2 separate regions of the Homo sapiens genome follow, and region 1 is linked to region 2. Evidence: promoter capture Hi-C in human tissues and cell types (Jung and others, 2019). All regions are on one chromosome and are shown on one strand. The core of a region is centred on a gene start or on the middle of the fragment in contact, and the rest is flanking DNA. Distances in the headings are between cores, read along the strand shown.

Evidence for each region. The method cuts DNA at HindIII sites, captures the fragments that hold promoters and counts their contacts. A contact is called where the count stands out against the background at its distance.
Region 1: a contact is called between a fragment that was not itself captured here and the fragment with the promoter of WFDC8 in region 2, in 6 of the 25 tissues and cell types used here (H1 embryonic stem cells, bladder, dorsolateral prefrontal cortex and 3 more).

Annotation. Positions count from the first base shown.
Region 1 is chr20:45,678,241-45,681,697 of GRCh38, forward strand. No RefSeq gene overlaps it. Among named protein-coding and RNA genes, the nearest start is that of WFDC11, 9.7 kb to the left of the region's middle. The HindIII fragment of the contact is 5,827 bases long and covers 1-3,457 here.
Region 2 is chr20:45,577,379-45,581,173 of GRCh38, forward strand. WFDC8 (WAP four-disulfide core domain 8) reads right to left here and starts at 1,906. Exons shown (of 6, transcript NM_130896.3): 1 at 1,844-1,906. The coding sequence starts at 1,869. RefSeq lists an enhancer at 721-1,656. The HindIII fragment of the contact is 18,093 bases long and covers 1-3,795 here.

The sequences.
Region 1 (3,457 bases), core at 464-2,963, 100 kb after region 2:
TGATTTCTTTTGATGGTATTGAATATTTCTGAGTTTTCACAAGCCTTGTATCTTTACATGGATGCCTGCATATTTGAGGCGACTGCCAACTCTTCCAGCTTTTGCAGGTGCTCTTTCATGGTGTTAGACCTTTACTTCTTAGTATTAGAACTTAAACACTGGCCTGTTGTTGCTTTACACTGTAGAGAGGGCTTAATAGTGAGCATCAGAACTAAAACATTGCACTGGACCTAACTCATTGCCCTGTCATTGTTTCCCAGTGTAAGGAAAACTTATAGTGAGCACCACAGCTTAAATGCCCTGGAACAATATTGCTGCCCTACTATTGTTTCTCAGTGTGGGAAAAACTTAGGTGGGTACTGAAAATCTTGACCTTTTAGTTGTTTCTGGGCCAGGGAAAAGCTTCACATGTGCACCTGGGCTTTGTGGATTTGGGCCTTCCCATAAATTTTGTCCCCTACAATACTCTGGCCCCCCCACCAGTCTCTTCAATATGGCATCCCCACTGATCAAAGCACTGAACAATCACCAAGATCCACATGCCAGTTGCTGCAATCAGTGACCTACTCTTTGTCCCCAATTCACCCCAGGTTTTTCAGCCCTCTTGGTTCTCTAGTGGGATGAAACTGGAGTGGACTTACCATTAAGATTCCTAGACAAGTGGGAAGATCAAATATCCACCTCCAATTCCTTCTTCTCATCTCAGCAACTGTGGGTCTAGGGAAGTTCTCTGTGAGTGGTATTATTATGGCCTGGGAGAGAGGGTGGAACAGGCTGAAATGACCATTTCTCTTACCTGTCACTGCTTCTCTCAATTCTATGAGCCCAGGGGGTTTCTCTGCTTCTCAAGTTCTGGTGTATTCAGGGTGGCATTCTTGTCTTTGAATAGTTTTTCATTTTATTTTTGTGTCAGGAAGTGATCCCAGGAGATCTATTCTGCCATCTTGCTGACATCACTTCCCAGTTTAGTCCTGAGGTATCAGGGATGGATTAAGAAGCACATGGCTTTCCCCATCCTGGGAAAATTCTCCAGGACAGGGCAAACCAGCTCTTGCACCAGAGACATATCCACAGAGTAGCCTTTCTTGTATTGTCACTCTCTGCAGCTCATATCCTTGTGCTGGGCTGTGAGGCAGGCACTAAGGACACTCTTTAGGTAACAGTGGAACGCAGAACAAAGAGAAGTCAAGCTAGCCTCAGAGAAGAGAAAATTTGTCTTAAGTTTTTGATATCACAATCTGCATCTTTTTATAATTTGTATCCCTTGACAAATTATTGTAGGTTTCATTGTTTTTAATAGCTTTGCCTTTTAATGTTATTAAAGATATAATTTATTTACCCACTGACATTACAGTATCAGAGTATTTTGGATTTCACAATGTATTTACTTTTATCAGTGAATGTTATACTTTCATATGTTTTCCAGTCACTAATTAGTGTCCTCTTCTTCAGCTTGAAGAACTCTCTTTAGCACTTCTTGTAAGGCAAGTCTAGTAGTAATAAACTCTCTCAGCTTCTGTTTGTCTGAGAAAGTCTTTATCACCCCTTCATTTTTGAAAGAAAAGATTTCTGGGTATAGTATTCTTGGTTGACAGGGTTGTTTTATTCAGGATTTTTAATATAACATCCCACCCCCTTCTGGCCTACAAAGTTTCTGCTGAGAAATCTGCTGATAATCTAAGGGAGGGTTCTCTTGTGTGTAGCAATTCACTATTTCCTCACTGTTTTTAAAACTTTCTCTGTCTTTTTGCATGTATGGCAGGGGGAGGGTGGTGAGTATTCTGGTTTCTTCCATCCTATGGTGAAGGTGAATGCCAGTATTTATCTCTCCCTCTCTCTGCACTAAGCTGGAGAGATAATCTGTGACAAATGCCTATACTTGTGTCCAAACTGCACCCTCTGATCCTGGTGAGATAGCTGCTTGATATGGTTAGAATCTGTGTCCCCATCCAAATCTCATGTCAAGTTGTAATCCCCAATGTTGGCGGTGGACCTGGTGAGAGGTGATTGGATCACGGGGGTAAATCCTTCATGAATGGTTTAACATCATCTCTTTGGTGCTGTTCTCATGATAGTGAGTGAGATGTGGTTGTTTAAAAGTATATAGTACATCCCTCACCCCGCTCCTCCTCCAGCCATGTGAAGATGCCTGCTCTGGCTTTGTCTTCTGCCATGAGTAAAAGCTCCTGAGGCCTCCTCAGAAGCAGATAGTGCCATGCTTCCTGTATAGCCCATAGAACCATGAGCCAATTAAACCTCTTTTCTTTATAAATTATGCAATCTTGAGTATTTATTTATAGCAATGAGAGAATGGACTAATACATGCTGAAAGTGGGCCCGTTGTATGCCCATGTCTTTGTTTTCTGTAGTCCCAGGCCGCTTAGGAATGCAAAGTCTCATTGGGAATGCAAAGCCCCATTAGTCCCCAGAGCTAGGTTGATAAGGAGACAGTCCCTTGGGTGGAAACTATAGAAGCTTAGGTACTCAGTACACGGACAAACTCCTTCCAGGAAGAATGGGTCGACTGGATTTATCACTGGGATGAGCCAAAGGAAAGGCTCAGAAAGTGCTCAGCTCAAGCTCAGGATGACAGGGAGCTACTTTCTCCCCTTAGGTCCTCAATGCAAATTCATTAAAAGCAAGGTCATCAAGTAGCCACCAATAGAGTAAGCAGGAAACCCCTTGCAAAGAGAAAATGGGAGCTCAGCATTCTAGTCCCTTTTCTACACTGCTCCCAGGAGATGTAGACCCTGGCAGTGTTATTATGTCCATTTAAAACCACCTTTTTGGCTGGGTGCAATGGCTCAGCCTGTAATCCCAGTACTTTGGGAGGCTGAAGTGGGTGGGTCACTTGAGGTCAGGAGTTCAAGACCAGCCTGGCCAACATGGTGAAACGCTGTCTCCACTAAAAATACAGAACATTAGCCAGATGTGGTGGTGCATGCCTGTAGTCCCAGCTACTTGGGAGGCTGAGACAGGAGAACCGCTTGAACCCGGGAGGTGGAGGTTGCAGTGAGCCAAGATTATGCCATTGCACTCCAGTCTGGGTGGCAGAGTGAGACTCTGTTTAAAAAACAAACAAACAAACAAAAAAACCTTTTTGTATGTGATCTGGGAAGACTTGAGTATGCATAGTTTCAGGTGGTAGCTGCTGTAAAAGTTGGGCCACTCAATGCATGGCATAAACCCCTTACAGGGAGTAACAGGGAGCTGCATTTTTAAGCCCCTTTTCTGTACCACTCCAAGAGTTTGAAACCCCCAGAAATACGTGTGCACCTGTATAAACCTACCACTCTTGTCTGTTGTCTAGAGAGATTCTCATATGCATAGTCCTCTCTGCTCCTAAAGCTGGGAGTTTTAGAGTGCAGTCCTTCCAGTAGAAGCTGCAAAAGTTGAGGCATTCTACATGTGGACAAACTCTCTCCAGGAAGGAGTAATAGACCTGGAGTTATCACTG
Region 2 (3,795 bases), core at 656-3,155:
CAATAATATATATTACATAAGGTGTCTTTTTTTTTTTTTGAGATGGAGTCTCACTCTGTCGCCAGGCTAGAGTACAGTAGTGCGATCTCGGCTCGCTGCAACCTCCGCCTTCTGGGTTCAAGTGATTCTCCTGCCTCAGACTCCCGAGTAGCTGGGATTACAGGCACCCACCACCACGTCCTGCTAATTTTTTGTATTTTTAGTAGAGATGAGGTTTCACTGTGTTGGCCAGGATGGTCTCAATCTCCTGACCTAGTGATCCGCCTGCCTCAGCCTCCCAAAGTGCTGGGATTACAGGCATGAGCCACCGCGCCTGGCCTATATACATGTTTAAAAAATAAAGACAGGGCCAGCACGGTGGCTCATGCCTGTAATCCCAGCACTTTGGGAGGCTGAGGCAGGCAGATCACCTGTGGTCAGGAGTTCAAGACTAGCCTGGCCAACACGGTGAAACCCTGTCTCTACTAAAAATACAAAAATTAGCCTGGAGTGGTGGTGCACACCTGTAGTCCCAGCTACTCAGGAGGCTAAGGCAGGAGGATCCCTTGAACCCAGAAGGTGGAGGTTGCAGAGAGCCGAGATCACACCACTATGCTCCAGCCTGGGGGACAGAGAGAGATTCCCTCTCAAACAAAACAAAAAAAATAAAAATAAAAATAAATAAATAAATAAAGTATGTAGAGTTTTATTTAATAATTAACCACACAGATTAAAAAATAGAAAGTAGCCAGCTTCCCAGAAGTCTTCTGTGTGCACCTTCTAATTACCATCTCTGTCATGTGTCTTCAGACAGAAGCACATATAAAAACAAGGTTATGTATTGATCAAATGATGAAAATGTGTGGTCAGAGGCTTGCATTTTCCCTAGGAGCAATGGCTCAGTATTTGCTAATCCGGTGTTCACAGTGACTTTACAGAACATAACTACCCCCAAGTAATGGGAATCAACTGTATTTTTATTACTTTGGTGTACAAAGAACTTTGAGCTCTCCATGGCTTGCCACAACAAAAGACTTCCTAGGCAAATTGTCTACTGCTTTGTTCCAAGTGGGGGCTCTACTTGAGGCTGTGGGACCAAGACAAAAGAAGCAGCCTCTATGTGGATTAGGCCCCTTCTCCTGGCAGAGAGAAAGCACAAAGGAGCTGGCAGAAACTCACAGTGCAAAACTCACTATGCATATGCTACATCTGCTCATACTCCAATAGGCAAAGCACAGCTGACAGCAAACCCAAAGTCAATGAGACAGAAATGTGTCTTCCTTCCACGGGCCGTTCTAAAATTGCAAGGTAATGGACAGGAGTGTCCTCTTAAAGGAAAGATGGAATGAATAGTTGTGAATAATAATATAACCCATCACTACTACTCCTGTTTTAATTTTTTGAAAATGTTTAGATACATATTATATGCTTGTTTAATTTAAAATATCAAACTTTACCTTGCTCAGGCTCTGCCCCTCCACACTGGGCCACTCAAAGATGCCCAACTTACCCTACTTGGGCTCCAACAGCCATATCAGGTTGCATTCGAGACCAGCCTGGCCAACATGGTGAAACCCCGTCTCTACTAAAAATGCAAAACTTAGCCGAGCGTGGTGGCGCACACCTGTAGTCCCAGCTACTAGGGAGGCTAAGGCAGGAGAATCGCTGGATGCATTGATGCCCTCTTCACCCTGCTTAGGCTCTGATTCCTGACACAAGACAGCTCTGTTCTGTGGAACCCCTCCTCACTATGCTTGGCCCAACTCCCCACAGCCGACCACTCTAACTTCTATGTATCCTCCTCATCTCCTTGGGCTCAGACCCTCCATGTCTGGCTACCCACCCCCATAGACACCCTCCTCACCCTCCTTCAGTTCGGACAGTCCACATCAGGCCTCTTCCCTATGGAGACAGCTTCCTCACTTTGCTCCAGCTCTAAGGCTCCTCCCTCATCTGCTCCCCTGCCTGGACACTCTGCTCACCCCACTCAGGCTCTCATTCTATGCCAGTCTGCCCCTCTAGCCCCAGGGGGATGCCTTTCTCAACATGGGCAGGCTGGTCTCCATGCTATGCTGCTTCTTGCCTCTTCACTGGGCATTCTCATCTACCCCTGGCTCCAGCACACCAGGCCAGCAGCCCTCCTACAGAGACACCCTCCTTGACCTGTTCCAGCTCTGATGCCCACACGGAGCCAGCCGTGGCTCCCTTCCCCTTGGGGCAAACGCCTACCTTGCTAAATGTGCCTATCTAATGGCTTTAGGACTGACTAGTTCAGTTAGTAAAGAAAAGGAGACAAAACAAGGAAGAGCTACTTTTCCTTTTTGTAAAAATATGTATTGTGAAAAACACCACAAAAATAAAAATATGCATGAAACATTAATGTTCAGTCTAACGAACTATTACGAAGTGACCACTCATTAAACTATCACTGAAATCAAGTAAAAAATTTCCAACACTTTCTGCTCCTTTTTCATTCTTTTCCAGTCACAACCCCTTCCTATGCTCTCAAAGGCAGCTAATGGTAGTGACTTTCTTTTTCATATTTTCAAGATCATATGTATTCCCCTAAATATGTTTTTGTTTTTGTCTGCTTCTGTTCTATATCAATGGAGTCACTTGGAATGTATTCTTTTGTGCCTGGCTTTTTGTGTTCAACATTATATTAATGAATTCCATCCACATTGTTTTGTGTAGCTGTATTTTGTCAATTTTCATTGCCATGCCATCTATTGTATGACTACACACATCTCTACTGAGTTGTTTATAGTTTGCAGCTGTTAAGAATAAAGCTGCTGTGTGTATACATAGCATGTATGTAATAACGTTCTGCACGTGTATCCCAGAACTTAAAGTATAATAAAAAACTAGGATTTTCTAAATAAAAATGTTATTTATATCAACATGTAATAAGTTTATTACGTTAAATGAATTAATAAATGTTTTTAAATGTCAAAAAAATTTTAAACAATTTACTCATGTAAAAAAAAGAATAAAGCTGCTATGAACACTCTGTGTGCATTTGCTGGAGCACGTGGGCAGGTGTTCTTGTAGGTTATACATTCAGCATAGGGAATGATGGGTTACAGGGTATGCATATCTTCAGCTTCTCAAGCTGATACCAAATTATTTCCCAAAGAGTTTGTACCAATTCACAGCCTTGCCATTGGTAGTTGAGAGTTCCTATTGTTCCATAACCATGCTGTATGTAGAACTGTCACAATCTTTTCATTTTTACCATCCTGCTACGAGTATGGAAATACATCACTGTGGACTTAATTTAAATTTCTTGACTACTAATGAGGTTGAGCACCTTTTTAGATCTTTATTAACCACTTGGCTATCCTCTCTTTGATTTTCTTTTCAAATGTTTTGCTCATTGTTCTCTGGGGTTTTCTGACTTTTTCTTGCTGATTTCTACTGGAGTCATGTCTTTCCTCAGTTATATGTATTATGAACATCTTCCAGGATCAAGGGTAATCTTCTAAAACCCTTATTGGCTTGTCTTTTACCTTTTGAATGAAAGTTTTTATCACGTGCCCTTCCTACCCCAAAGACAGAATCAGGAATCCTTTTTCTATGTTCCTTTCCTACAATACAATAACTCGCTACAATACAATACAGTAACTCCAATATCTGAAGTCTTTGTGGACCTCTGCTGTTGGTTGTTTTTCTTGATTTTTTTCATCTTGTTTTCTTAAGATCTGTGTGATTTTTTTTATTGTGAGAGTACATATTTAATGGAAGTTTATGTATGTAACAATACTTTGTGGAATTTCTTGGATTCCTGTGTTTAAAGGAGAATTCTTCCGAATCAAC